Regions from separate parts of the Homo sapiens genome. Here all the other regions are linked to region 3. Evidence: promoter capture Hi-C in human tissues and cell types (Jung and others, 2019). All regions are on one chromosome and are shown on one strand. Each heading gives the region's core, a stretch centred on a gene start or on the middle of the fragment in contact. The rest is flanking DNA. Distances are from core to core; before and after follow the strand shown.

Region 1 (3,441 bases), core at 375-2,874, 210 kb after region 3:
ATAAGACAGTAGAAGAGAATGATTTCCAGCAGTCTATTTTATAACTAAACCCACAACTTTTTAATATACTGCTTACTATCCATTATAAGGGGCAACTGATTGCTAAAAACCCCAACTTATTTCCTGGGGAGATCAGAAGTCTATCTGCATTCTCTTGGTAAGAAATACATTAGCAGCTCTAAGACCCCATGAACTTTCACAAGCCACAGAAATTCTGAAAGTCAACATGAAGGGTACCTAACAAATGGCCTAACAGAGGTTGATACGAACCCTCAGACATCATAAGAAGGCAGAGAACGCACAGCCATAAAAAAGAATGAAATAATGTCCTTTACAGCAACACAGATGCAGCTGGAGGTCATTATCCTAAGCGAATTAAGGCAGGAACAGAAAACCAAGTATCTCATGTTCTCACTTACAAGTGGAAGCTACACACTGGGTACACATGGACATAAACATAACAATAGGCCTTAGGGATTAGGAGGGGGAGGGAGAAAACGGGGTAAGGGCTGCAAAACTAATCATTGGGTACTATGCTCATTACCTGGGTGATGAGCAACAATTGTACCCCCAAACCTCATAATCACACAATATACCCATGTACACAAAAAAACTTGGACATGTACCCCCGAATCTAAAATAAAAGTTGAAATTGTAAAAAATTTTAAGAGAACAGAAGATACCTTGCACCTTTCTCTTTATATGTATAAAATATATATTAAAAACCATATATTAAAATATAAAAAAGATATACAAATATATAAATATAAAATATATATTAAACATTTATACATATATATATAAATTTTTTTTTTCCAGATGGAGTTTCACTCTGTCACCCAGGCTGGAATGCAGTGGCGCGATCTCGGCTCACTGCAACCCCTGCCTCCAGGTTCAACCGATTCTCCTGCCTCAGCCTCCTAAGTAGCTGGGACTACAGGCACATGCCACTGTGCCCCGCTAATTTTTGTATTTTTAGTAGAGACGGGGTTTCACCATGTTGGCCAGGCTGGTCTCAAACTCCTGAGCTCAAGTGATCCACCCACCTCGGCCTCCCAAAGTGCTGAGATTACTGACGTTGAGCCAGTCACCAACGCCTGGCCTCTGTAAGTATCTTTTTTTGATGTTGTTGTTTTTGAGACGGAGTCTCACTCTGTCACCCAGGCTGCAGTGCAGTGGCACGATCTTGGCTCACTGCGACTTCCGCCTCCTGGGCTCAAATAATTCTAATGTCTCAGCCTCCCGAGTGGCTGGGACTACAGGCGCATGCCACCATGCCGGCTAATTTTTATATTTTTAGTAGAGACAGGGTTTCACCATACTGGTCAGGATGGTCTCAAACTTCTGAGCTCTGGTGATCCTCCCACCTCAGCCTCCTAAATTACTGGGATTACAGGCATGAGCCACTGTGCCTGGCCTTATTTATTTTTTTAGACAGATTCTTGCTCTGCCACCCAGGCTGGAGCGCAGTGGCACAATCCCGGCCACTGCAACCTCTGCCTCCAGGGTTCAAGCAATTCTCCTGCCTCAGCCTCCTGAGCAGCTGGGATCACAGGCGTACACCACTATGCCCAGCAAATTTTTGTATTTTTAGTAGAGACAGGGTTTCACTATGTTGGCCAGGCTGGTCTCAAACTCCTGACCTCAGGTGATGTGCCCGCCTCATCCTCCCAAAGTGCTGGGTTTACAGGTGTGAGCCACTGCGTCCAGTCGATAGATCTTTACATTAGAAAAATGTTGACTGAAAAGCTTAGTCTGGTATTCTCACTATACAGAATGTTAAATGACATTAGGACAAGGAGGGGAAAAAAAGCAATTATAAGTCATCAGGTCGGGCACAGTGGCTCACACATATAATCCCAGTACTTGGGGAGGCAGAGCCAAGAGAATCGTTTGAGCCCAGGAGTTCAAGACCAGCCTGAGCAACATAGTGAGACCTTGTCTCCATTAAAAATTAAAAAAAAAATTAGCTAGGTATGATGGCATCCATCTGTAGTCCCAGCTACTCGGGACTGAGGCGGGAGGATCGCCTGAGCCCAGGCTGCAGTAAGCTATCATCACACCACTGCATTCCAGTCTGAGTGACAGCGCAAGACTCTGTGCCCTTACTGCCCCCCCCCAAAAAAAGTAATCAGTTTTTCCTGAGGATGAAAGGAAAAGCTAAGTAACTTTTACTAGATGCAGGACACTAGCCAAAACGAATAAAAGTTATTAACTCTTTTAGAGTAAAAGCTAGGTTTAAAAGTTAAACAAAATAACCATTTTACTCTGCTATTCCTGAAAACATATACGCCATCATCTTATCTGAGAGCTTAAAATACATCAAAGCAAAGTATCAGTGAACTAGTACCAGGAAAGTTGTAGACTACAATAAAGAATGAGGAGGAGTTGAATTGGGAGAATAACTTGGGCTGAGAAGCAGAAAAATAATAGTGACCATTTCTTTCACAGTGACTGGGAACGGAAGCAGCCTTTATCTGAAAAAGCACTCATCTATTTAATCACAACTGTACCTCTCACTTCTCTGACATTAATTTTCATTTATTTTTTGAGACAGAGTCTCGCTCTGTCACCCAGGCTGGAGTGCAGTGGTGAGATCTTGGCTCACTGCAATCTCTGCCTCCTGTGTTCAAGCAATTCTCAGCCTCAGCCTCCTGAGTAGCTGGGATTACAGGCACGCATCACCACGACTAGCTAATTTTTGTATTTTTCGTAGAGATGGGGTTTCATCATGTTGGCTAGGCTAGTCTCAAACTCCTGACCTCAAGTGATCTGCCCGCCTCGGCCTCCCAAAGTGCTGGGATTACGGTGGCTCACGCCTGTAATCACAGCATTTGTGTGAGCCACCCAGTCCAGCATTTTTTTTTTTTTTTTTTTTTTTGAGACAGAGTCTCACTCTGTCATCCAGGCTGGAGTGCAATGGTGCCATCTCAGCTTACTGCAACCTCCACCTCCCGGGTTCAAGCGATTCTCCCGCCTCAGCCTCCCAAGTAGCTGGGATTGATTACAGGCACCAAACATCATGTCCGGCTAATATTTGTATTTTTAGTAGAGACAGGGTTTCGCCATGTTGGCCACGCTGGGCTTGAGCTTCTGACCTCAGCTGATCCACCCTCCTCAGCCTCCCAAAGTGCTAGGATTACAGGTGTGAGCCATCACACCTGGCCGATCACCGTGCTCGGCCAATTTTTAAAAGAACAGTTAGGGCCGGGCACGGTGGCTCACGCCTGTAATCCCAGCACTTTGGGAGGCCGAGGTGGGCAGATCACAAGGTCAGGAGATCGAGACCATCCTGGCTAACACAGTGAAACCCTGTCTCTACTAAAAAAATAAAAATAAAAAATTATAAAATAACAGGGCTTTTTGTATGTGTGTGTGTAGAAATAATTAAAAGGGAAATGAAAATGTTTCTTCTAAGTTAAAAAAAAAGTTAAGAGCATT
Region 2 (3,474 bases), core at 690-3,189, 200 kb after region 3:
TACCGAGGGAAACACTGCAAGATTATACTCAGGTTCTTCTGCAAATAGATAACAAGAAGAATACAAGGGAAGACTGATTGGAGGGAGAACCAGTAGATCAGTAGTTCTCAGCCTGGGGTGACTTTGCCTCTAGGAACATTTGGCTAACACATTTTTGGTTGTCACTACTGGGCTGGGATGTGCTACTGTTATCTCGTGGGTGAAAGCTAGAGATGCTATTAAACATCCTCCAAGACACAGGTCAGTCCTCCACCACAAAGAATTATCAGGCCAGGCCGGGCACGGTGGCTCACGCCTGTAATCCCAGCACTTTGGGAGGCTGAGGCGGGCAGATTACCGGAGGTCAGGAGATCGAGACCATCCTGGCTAACACGGTGAAACCCCGTCTCTACTAAAAAATACAAAAAAATTAGCCGGGCGTGGTGGTGGGCGCCTGTAGTCCCAGCTCTTGGGAGGCTGAGGCAGGAGAATGGCGTGAACCTGGGAGGCGGAGCTTGCAGTGAGCCAAGATCGCGCCACTGCACTCCAGCCTGGGCGACAGAGCGAGATTCCATCTCAAAAAAAAAAAAAAAAAGAATTATCAGGCCCAAGATGTCAAGAGCACTGAGGCTGAGAAACTCTGATACAGATAAAAGAGTCTTAAAGAGACAGTAATCAATCACAATGCATGAATCTTCTTTGGATCCTGATTCAAACCAATAAATGGTGAAAAAGATGTGACACAAGACAATTAGAAATTTCAACTCTGGATATCTGATGATATTAAAGAATTACTAACAAAACTAATTTAAATCTTACACATGTAGTGGGGAAGACACTGGTAAAGGACATATAATTTCAGTGGGAATAAGTTCAAGAGATCTATTATACAACATGAATATTACAGTTAATAATAACGTATACCTGAAAATAACTGAGAGCAGATTTTTAAGTGTTCTCATCACAAAAAATGACAAGGATGTGAGATGATGCATATATGAATTAGCTTAATTTTCTGCAATTATGGGGTCTTGCCACATTTCCAGACTGGCCTTGAACTCCTGGGCTGAAGCAATCCTCCCACCTAAGCCTCCCAAAGTGCTGGGATTATACATGTGACTGAGCCACTGTGCCCGGGTCTGCCAATGTTTTGTAAAAAGCTTTATTAAGGTAGCTTTATTAAGCACGTGGTGGCTCACGCCTATAATCCCAGCACTTTGGGAGGCTGAGGTGTGTGGATCACCTGAGGTCGGGAGTACGAGACCACCCTGAACAACATGGAGAAACCCCGTCCTAAGTAAAAATACAAAATTAGCCAGGTGTGATGGTGCATGCCTGTATGTAATCCTGGCTACTTGGGAGGCTGAGGCAGGAGAATCGTTTGACCCGGGAGGTGGAGGTTGCGGTGAGCCAAGATTGCGCCATTGTACTGTGCAGCCTGGGCAACAAGAACGAAACTCCGTCTCAAAAAAGAAAAAAAAAAACACTAAATACACCTCCAAAATTTCCTTGTATTTTGTTTTTGGTGATAATATTTATCATGAGATCCATCCTCAACATAATTCAAAGTGCATAATGCTATACGATTAATACAGGAACTATGTTGTGTAGCAGATCTCTAGAACTTACTCATCTTGCATAACTGAAACTTTATACCCACTCAACAGCAATTCCCCATTTTCCCCACCCTGTCAAGGGTTTTTGACCTTGTTTTTTGAAGCCAAACTCAGAACTTAGATCCAGACTGCAATGGCCGTGTTTGTAGACACTGCACAAAACTGCCCATGTCATACCATCAACTTGACATTCACCTCTCTCCTGACAATGAGATCAGGAATTCCCTGAGAATAAGAACCACATCTAACAAGTCGTTTTTTTTTTTTTAATTTTTTTTTTGAGACGGAGTCTCGCTCTGTTGCCCAGGCTAGGGTGCAGTGGCACGATCTCCGCTCACTGCAAGCTCCGCCTCCCAGGTTCACGCCATTCTCCTGCCTCAGCCTCCCGAGTAGCTGGGACTACAGGCGCCCACCACCATGCCCGGCTAATTTTTTGTATTTTTAGTAGAGACGGGGTTTCACCATGTTAGCCAGGATGGTCTCGATTTCCTGACCTCGTGATCCGCCTGCCTCGGCCTCCCAAAGTGCTGGGATTACAGGTGTGAGCCACTGCGCCCAACCGGTTTTTACTTTTTTTTTTTTTTTGAGTCGGAGTCTCGCACTGTCGCCCAGGCTGGAGTGCAATGGCGTGATCTTGGCTCACTGCAACCTCTGCCTCCCAGGTTTAAGTGATTCTCCTGCTTCAGCCTCCGGAGTAGTTGGGATTACAGGTGCCCACCACCACACCTGGCTAATTTTCTGTATTTTTAGCAGATACGGGGTTTCACTATGTTGGCCAGGCTGGTCTTGAACTTCTGACCTCGTGATCTGTCCGCCTCGGCCTCCCAAAGTGCTGGGACTACAGGCGTGAGCCACCACGCCCAGCCACGGTTTTTACTCTTTAGCACTGTGCCCAGGATGGTAAGTACTCAATAAATGCCAACCAAATTGAATATATAATAGAAAGCAGAAAACAAATCAGCCAATTCATAGTTTTTGGCTCTTATATCTTGTGAATGGGCCGGGCACGGTAGCTCACGCCTGTAATCCCAGCACTTTGGGAGGCCAAGGCTGGTGGATCAGTTGAGGCCAGGAGTTCAAGACCAGCCTGGCTAACATGGCAAAACCCCATCTCTACTAAAAATACAAAAATTAGCCAGGCGTAGTGGTGTGCACCTGTAATCCCAGCTACTTGGGAGGCTGAGGCACGAAAAGAACTTGAACCCTGGAGGTGGAGGTTGCAGCGAGCTGAGAAAGTGCCCCTGCATTCCAGCCTGGGCGACAGAGTGAGACTCGGTCTCAAAAACAAAAAATAAAAAACAAACAAAAATCTTGTGAATGACATTACCTAAACAAGAGTAAAATAGGGGCCAGGCGTGGTGGCTCAGGCCTGTAATCCCAGCATTTTGGGAGGCCGAGGCGGGCAGATCACTTGAAGTCAGGAGATGGAGACAAGCCTGGCCAACACGGCAAAACCCCGTTTCTATTAAAAATACAAAAATTAGCCAGGTGTGGTGGCACATGCCTGTAATCCCAGCTACTCAGGAGGCCGAGGCAGAAGAATTGCTTGAACCTGGGAGGTGGAGGTTGCAGTGAGCTGAGATTGGGCCACTGTACTCCCTCCAGCCAGGGCAACAGAGCGAGCCTCTGTCTCAAAAAAATAATAATAATTAAAATAAAATAAAACATATATAGCTGAGTGTGGTGGGGTGTGCCTCTAATCCCAGCTACTTGGAAGGCTGAGTGAGGCTCGAGAATTGCTTGAAGCCTGGAGGCGGAGATTGCAGTGAGCCGAGTGCCACTGCACTCCAGCCTGGAGCCTGGGCGATAAGAGTGAAACTATGTCTCAAAAAAAAAAAAAAAAAAAACCCAAAACAAAACATTGAAGTGTTTTGTATTT
Region 3 (3,212 bases), core at 384-2,883:
GTAGAAGGGGGGACACTACATTCATTCAACACTTACTGGGTGCCTATTACATACAAGAGCTGTGTCAAGAGCTTCACATATTCTGCCTAAATGTTCCCAACAATGTTTGTGGGGTGGGCTGTATCATTCCCATGTTTGAGATATATAAGCTGAGGCCTGGAACTTGAAGGGCCCTGTCTGAAGTCCCAAAACTAGAAAACGATTTAGCCAAAATTTTTGTTTTAATCCGTATGTATGGCTCTCCAGGCTGATGGAGCTGGTCATATTTTGCAGTACCCAGAGGCTATACACCTGAGTACAGGCAGAAGCTACCCAGAGGATGATCTCTCCAGGCTTCTAAAGTATTTCTTTACTTGTTCAATGGTAATATTACTACTTTATACAGTTGTTGTGAGGATTAAATATGGTACGTAGGCCGGGTGTGGGGGTTCACGCTTGTAATCCCAGTTTGAGAGGTCGAAGTGGGAGGGTCGCTTGAGTCTAGGAGTTCGAAACCAGCCTGGGCAACGTGGTGAAACCTCGTCTCTACAAAAAACAAACGAACAAAGAAACACCCAAAAATTAGCCAAGCGTAGTGGCGCATGCCTGTAGTCCCAGCTACTCGGGAGGCTGAGGTAGAAGGATCGCTTGAGCCCGGGAGGTCGAGGCTGCAGTGAGCCGTAGTAGTGCCACTGCACTCCAGCCTGGGCGACAGAACGAGATCTTGTCTCAAAAATAAAATATTTAAAAATGTGGTATATAAAGCATTTGGCATATAGTACATTCAATACAAGCTGGTTGTTACTAGTAATGATAAAGTGCGCCTACCGTTTTGCTAGCACGTAACGTCTTCACTGGGCTAAATCAGCCCGATTCTAACCATTGACTCTGTGGTGCTGGAGCCCTAGATCAATGGTCAGAGGCCAGCAGGAGGTGCAGAGGTCCGGATCAAGTGCCATTTCCCTCTCTAGAAGTACTCAAACCCTCATCTCTGCCCTCATCCCTGCCAGCGCCTACCTCGACGCGGACGAGAAGCTGTGGTACCGCGACTGCTGGCAGGCCATGACCCACGGGCAGGCGGGCAATCAGCACCCGCGGCCTGGGAAGCTGTGGTAGCGTACAGCCGGTCGCCATGGCGACCAGGCCCCAGAGGCCCCCCCGCGGCGGGGGCGGAGTCAGGGATGCGCCACGCCCCCGAGCCTAGCGCCCGCGGGCTGGGAGTAGGACAAAGTAGCAAAGGTGGACTGGGACCCGGCAGCGGGTGCCCTGAGAGTCAACCACTACAGCCGATTTGACCCCAGGTACCAGAACTGAGGCAGGGGGATGAACAGAGGCCATGGGGAGGGAAGTGTGCTGAGAGGCCGGAGCCGCTTTGCCGGCGGGAATGGTAGTTTTCGGTGTCCCGACGTCTCGATGGGACAGGCTTATGGCTGAGGACGGTTATACTACATCTCCCAGAATTCTCTACCAGCCCGAGTTGCTCCGCCTCTCGAGAGCTCTGCATTGTGGGGTATGGAGTTCGAAATGTGGTAAGGCGTGTCAGTGTCCAAAGAGGGGTGCCGGACTCGGACTCGGTTTCCCTGCGGCCCAGGGAGGCTCACGGGCCATTGGCTGAGCGGGGCGGATCTGGTCCCGCTCCTCCCCGCCCCCAGTGACACAATAGTAGCTCCCTCCAAGATGGCGGCAGCGACGGCAGACCCGGGAGCTGGGAACCCGCAGCCTGGGGACTCCTCCGGCGGGGGCGCTGGGGGCGGGCTGCCGTCCCCTGGGGAGCAGGAGCTGAGCCGGCGCTTGCAGCGCCTGTATCCCGCGGTCAACCAGCAAGAGACTCCGCTGCCGCGCTCCTGGAGCCCCAAGGACAAATACAACTACATTGGTCTCTCCCAGGGCAACCTCCGCGTCCACTACAAAGGTATCGGCCCGTCAGGCTGGGGGGAATTAAGGCTAGAGCGTCCGTGGGGTGGCTCTGCTGCCAGGCCCCCGCCCTATCACCTCCCTTTCCCTGCCTAGGTGCTCCAAGTTAGGGCTTGGCCCTTTCAGGATGTCCAGGGTGGTGAGGCTGAACAGGCCGAGGGCTGACTGCCTGTTCTCTGTCCTGAGACACCTGCCGTCAAGAGAACCGCAACAGGTGTCCAAACCCAGTGCTGGGCCGGACCTTCCACTCCAGGGCCTCCGTGCTTATCCTAGGCTGGCGCCAACGGCAGCGGGACCTTTCGCCACTGCTTAGAAGAAAGGGGTGGTCACATACCTACCATTAGCGTGAGACTCATGGGCTTCCCCACCTGCCAGGCATCCTAGACTGAGCCTGGGGTTCCGTGCTAGAGTTTGGGGGGTGTCTTCCAGGTCGGCCTCATCCTTCTTCCCCTGGCCTCCCAGGTGGGCTGCCTGGATTCTAGAGAGGCTGCCAGCAGCACTTGAGTATCTCTCACATTGCCTCTACCCTTGTTTTGTTTGTATGGGCAGTGTCTCAGGCAGGACTGCTGTTCTCAGGAGGAGGTGAGGCAAAGGTGGAAGGTTTAAGTGTTTATTCAGTTGTCTAATGATTCCTCGGCCTGTGTAAGTGCGTCCTCTGGCCACAGAGGAGTGGAGTTGTCATGGAGGAGTTGCAGAGAAAAATGAGGCTTCCATTTGCATTTCCTTCTGCTGAAATTTCTTACTTGCCCTCTCCTGTTAGGTCATGGCAAAAATCACAAAGATGCGGCCTCAGTGCGTGCCACCCACCCCATACCTGCTGCCTGTGGCATTTATTACTTTGAAGTGAAGATTGTCAGCAAAGGAAGAGATGGGTAAGCCCTTCATGACCACCCTCTTTCCCTGATCATGGAGCTGATCCCTGTGGTCAGAGTTCAGGTCCTTTGGCTGGCACTTGTTGCTGATGTGAGCTGGGGAGCCGCATGGGTCTGGGCTGCCATTATTTCCTGACTGTGGGCATGGTCTGGTCTAAGCAGCAGATCTTGATGGCCAGTGGGTGTGTTGGGGGTAAAGCAGGGATTATTTTTAGTGATGATGTAATTTGATACCTAGAAGGTTAGGCAAACAAGTAACAAGTTTACTTTAAAAATTTAGTGTCCAGAATGGAGTTTCCCTCATGAGCATGTGGTGTTTTTGTGACTTCCTTCCTTTCACATTCTTGCTGTATTCATGAGGTTCTTTTTTATGGCATTTAGTCATGTGGAGGCCCTGGTAGCCTTCAAAGAGATAGTAGAGTCTTTGCAGCATTCATGAAAGCTTCT
Region 4 (3,187 bases), core at 422-2,921, 200 kb before region 3:
AGAGGGAGACTCTGTCTCAAAAAAAAAAGACCCTGTCTCTACAAATTTTAAAAGAAAAGTACTGTTAACTTTTATAAGGGTCATAATGGTATGGTAATTGCCATTTATTTATATATTTATTTATTTTATTTTATTTTTCAGAAACAGGGTTTTAGTATGCTGCCCAGGCTGGCCTCAAACTCCTGGGCTCAAGCAATCCTCCTGTTTCAGCCTCCCAAATAGCTAGTAGGACTACAGGAATGGCCCAGTGCACCTGGCTTATAGTTGTCTTTTAAAAACAGCCATTACCATTTATTTATTTATTTATTTAGAGACTGAGTCTTTCTCTGCTGCCCAGGCTGGAGTACAGTGGCATGATCTCAGCTCACTGCAATCTCTGCCTCCTGGGTTCAAGCAGTTCTCCTGTCTCAGACTCCTGAGTAGCTGGGATTATAGGTGTCCTCCACGACAACCAGCTAATTTTTGTATTTTTAGCAGAGATGGGGTTCGCTATGTTAGCCAGGCTGGTCTCCAACTCCTGACCTCAGGTGATCCACCCACCTCAAGCTTCCAAAGTGCTGTGATTTCAGGCAAGAGCCACGTGCCCAGCCTAAAAAGAGCCCTTACCTTTTAGAGAGGCATACTTAAAAATGGATGAAATAGATGTCTATGATTTGCTTTAAAATAATCTGTAGAAAGAGGTGAGTGAGAGCATAAATGAAATAAGATGAGCCATCAGTTGGTAATCTTTGAAACTGGGTGATGGCTACATGGGAGTTAATACACTTTTCTCTCTCCTTTCTCATGTATTTGCAATTTTTCCTATAAAAAGTTTTTTGGTCTGGGCACAGTGGCTCATGCCTGTAATCCCAACACTGTGGGAGGCTAAGGTGGGAGGATCACTTGAGACCAGGGGTTTGAGACCAGCCTGGCAACATGGTGAAATCCCATCTCTACCAAAAAAAAAAAAAAAATTAGCTGGGTGTGGTGGCACCACCCTGTAGTCCCTGCTACTCGGGAAGCTGAGGTGAGAGGATCACCTGAGCCCCGAATTTGAGGCTACAGTGAGCCATGACGGCACCACTGCACTCCAGCCTAGGCCACAGAGGGAGATACAGTTTCAAAAAAAAAGTTTTGTGTTGTTGTTTTTAACTAAGCTTCTCAGATTCACCCAGATGCGGAGTCAGTGAGATCTCACATGGTCAGCTTCACAGGAGGGCAGGCTTTCTGCATAAAAACAGGAAGCTTAGAGAGCTCCGGGGCAGGGTGTGCTGTGACTTCACTGTGTTTTTGCAGAAACAGGTCTGATAGCCCTCGGAGATCAGCAGACAAGGTTAAGCAAGAGACAGCAAGTCTGAATTTGAGGTTAAATGTGAAATCACACATGTTGTCTAGATGTTTGGTCAGCACTGGCTCCTGGATCTTGGGGGCCTCTACAGAGCCCACCCTCCACCCCCATGTGCTTATGCCAGCACATGTGATAGCTGGAGACTTATCCAGCCACCTCACTGCACACCCCAGCAAATGGCCAGCACCAGTGGGTGATCAGGAAATGATGCCCGGACAAACTGATAGATGTAAGGAATTTGAGGCTGGGCACAGTGGCTCACGCCTGTAATCCTAGCACTCTGGGAGACTGAGGTGGGCAGATCCCTTGAGGTCATGAGTTTGAGACCAGCCTGGCCAACATGGAGAAACCCCTGTCTCTACTAAAAATAAAAAAATTAGCCAGGCATGGTGGCGTGCGCCTGTAATCCCAGGAAGCTGAGGTAAGGAATTTGAGGCCTTTCCTAGAGGCAGCAGCTGGAAGTGGAGGGATTGAAGGAACCCCTCATCTGACCAGCTGCTCAATTTTCTTACCCACACGATAAGGCTGGTTCCTTAACTACACGGCCACGTGAAAAAAACAAAAAACAGGGCCAGGCACAGCGGCTCATGCCTATATTCCAGTACTTTGGGAGGCTGATGTGGGAGGATCACTTGAGGCCCGGAGTTCGAGACCAGCCTGGACAACATGACAAAACCCCATCGCTACTAAAAATGTGAATATTTAGCTGGGAGTGGTGGTGGGTGCCTGTATTCCTGGTTACTCTGGAGGATGAGGTATGAGAATCCCTTGAACCCTGGAGGCAGAAGTTGCAGCGAGCCGAGATTGCGCCACTGCACTCCAGCCTGAGCAACAGAGCAAGACTTCATCTCAAAAAAAAAAGAAAAAGAAAAAAAACACAATTTTGGGTCCAGGCCCTCTGGGAAGATGACTGCAGTACAAGGGGCCAAGGTTAAAGTGGATGGTGGTGAGTCAAAACTGAGCAAGAACAAGCCGAAGAGATACCTGAAAGCCGAGAAGAAAGTGGCAGAGAAGGCAGCCAAGCAGTAAGAGCTCAGTGAGAAACAGCTAAGCCCAGGTCACTGCTGCTGCCACCAACCATACCACTGACAATGGTGTGGGTCCTGAGGAGGAGAGCCTGGACCCAAATCAGTACTACAAGATCCACAGCCAAGGCCAGGCCCGGTGGTTCACTCCTGTAATCCTAGCACTTTGGGAGGCTGAGGCAGGCAGATCACTTGAAGTCAGGGGTTCGAGGCCAGCCTGGCCAACATGATGAAACCCCATCTCTACTAAAAATACAAAAATTAGCTGGGCATGGTGGCACATGCCTGTAATTCCAGCTACTTGGGAGGCTGAGGTAGGAGAATCGCTTGAATCTGGGAGGTGGAGGTTGCAGTGAGCTGAGATTGAGCCACTGCACTCCAGCCTGGGCAACAGAGCGAGACTCTGTCTCAAAAAAAAAAAAAAAAAAAAAGATTTGCAGTCAGGTAGGTCAATGGGAAAGACCCATACCCCAACGAGATCCATGTAGACATCTCCCTCACTGACTTCATCCCAGAATATTGTCACCTGCAAACTGGGGATCTCCTGACTGATATCACCTTAAACGTGACAGATAGGATCCATGCCAAAAAAGCTTTTGGAGGAAAGCTGAACTTCTATGATCTTTTTTTTTTTTTTTTTGAGATGGAATTTCACTATTGTTGCCCAGGCTGGAATGCAATGGCACAATCTCAGCTCACTGCAACCTCCTCCTCCCTAGGTTTAAGCAATTCTCCTGCCTCAGCCTCCCTAGTAGCTGGGATTACAGGCGTGCGCCACCACGCCCGGCTAATTTTGTATTTTTAGTAGAGGTGAGGTTTCTCCATGTTGGTCAGG

Evidence for each region. Contacts are between HindIII fragments. The study calls those that stand out against the background at their distance.
Region 1: a fragment that was not itself captured here is called in contact with the fragment with the promoter of RANBP10 in region 3 in 1 of the 25 tissues and cell types used here (bladder).
Region 2: a fragment that was not itself captured here is called in contact with the fragment with the promoter of RANBP10 in region 3 in 1 of the 25 tissues and cell types used here (dorsolateral prefrontal cortex).
Region 4: a contact is called between a fragment that was not itself captured here and the fragment with the promoter of RANBP10 in region 3, in 1 of the 25 tissues and cell types used here (aorta).

What each region holds. Positions count from the first base shown.
Region 1 is chr16:67,590,401-67,593,841 of GRCh38, reverse strand. The region is part of intron 2 of CTCF (CCCTC-binding factor); the gene reads right to left. Among named protein-coding and RNA genes, the nearest start is that of CTCF, 30 kb to the right of the region's middle. The HindIII fragment of the contact is 6,285 bases long and covers 1-3,441 here.
Region 2 is chr16:67,606,725-67,610,198 of GRCh38, reverse strand. All of the region lies in intron 2 of CTCF (CCCTC-binding factor), which reads right to left. Among named protein-coding and RNA genes, the nearest start is that of CARMIL2, 37 kb to the left of the region's middle. The HindIII fragment of the contact is 5,706 bases long and covers 1-3,474 here.
Region 3 is chr16:67,804,981-67,808,192 of GRCh38, reverse strand. It overlaps RANBP10 (RAN binding protein 10), which reads left to right and starts at 1,633. Exons shown (of 14, transcript NM_020850.3): 1 at 1,633-1,891; 2 at 2,654-2,765. The coding sequence starts at 1,657. TSNAXIP1 (translin associated factor X interacting protein 1) reads right to left here and starts at 1,304. Exons shown (of 16, transcript NM_001288990.3): 1 at 997-1,304. The coding sequence starts at 1,043. RefSeq lists silencers at 1,075-1,194, 1,695-1,914 and enhancers at 1,335-1,564, 1,270-1,889, 1,890-2,510. The HindIII fragment of the contact is 11,094 bases long and covers 1-3,212 here.
Region 4 is chr16:68,004,056-68,007,242 of GRCh38, reverse strand. It overlaps the pseudogene KARS1P3. Among named protein-coding and RNA genes, the nearest start is that of DPEP2, 6.2 kb to the right of the region's middle. RefSeq lists an enhancer at 1-657. The HindIII fragment of the contact is 4,078 bases long and covers 1-3,187 here.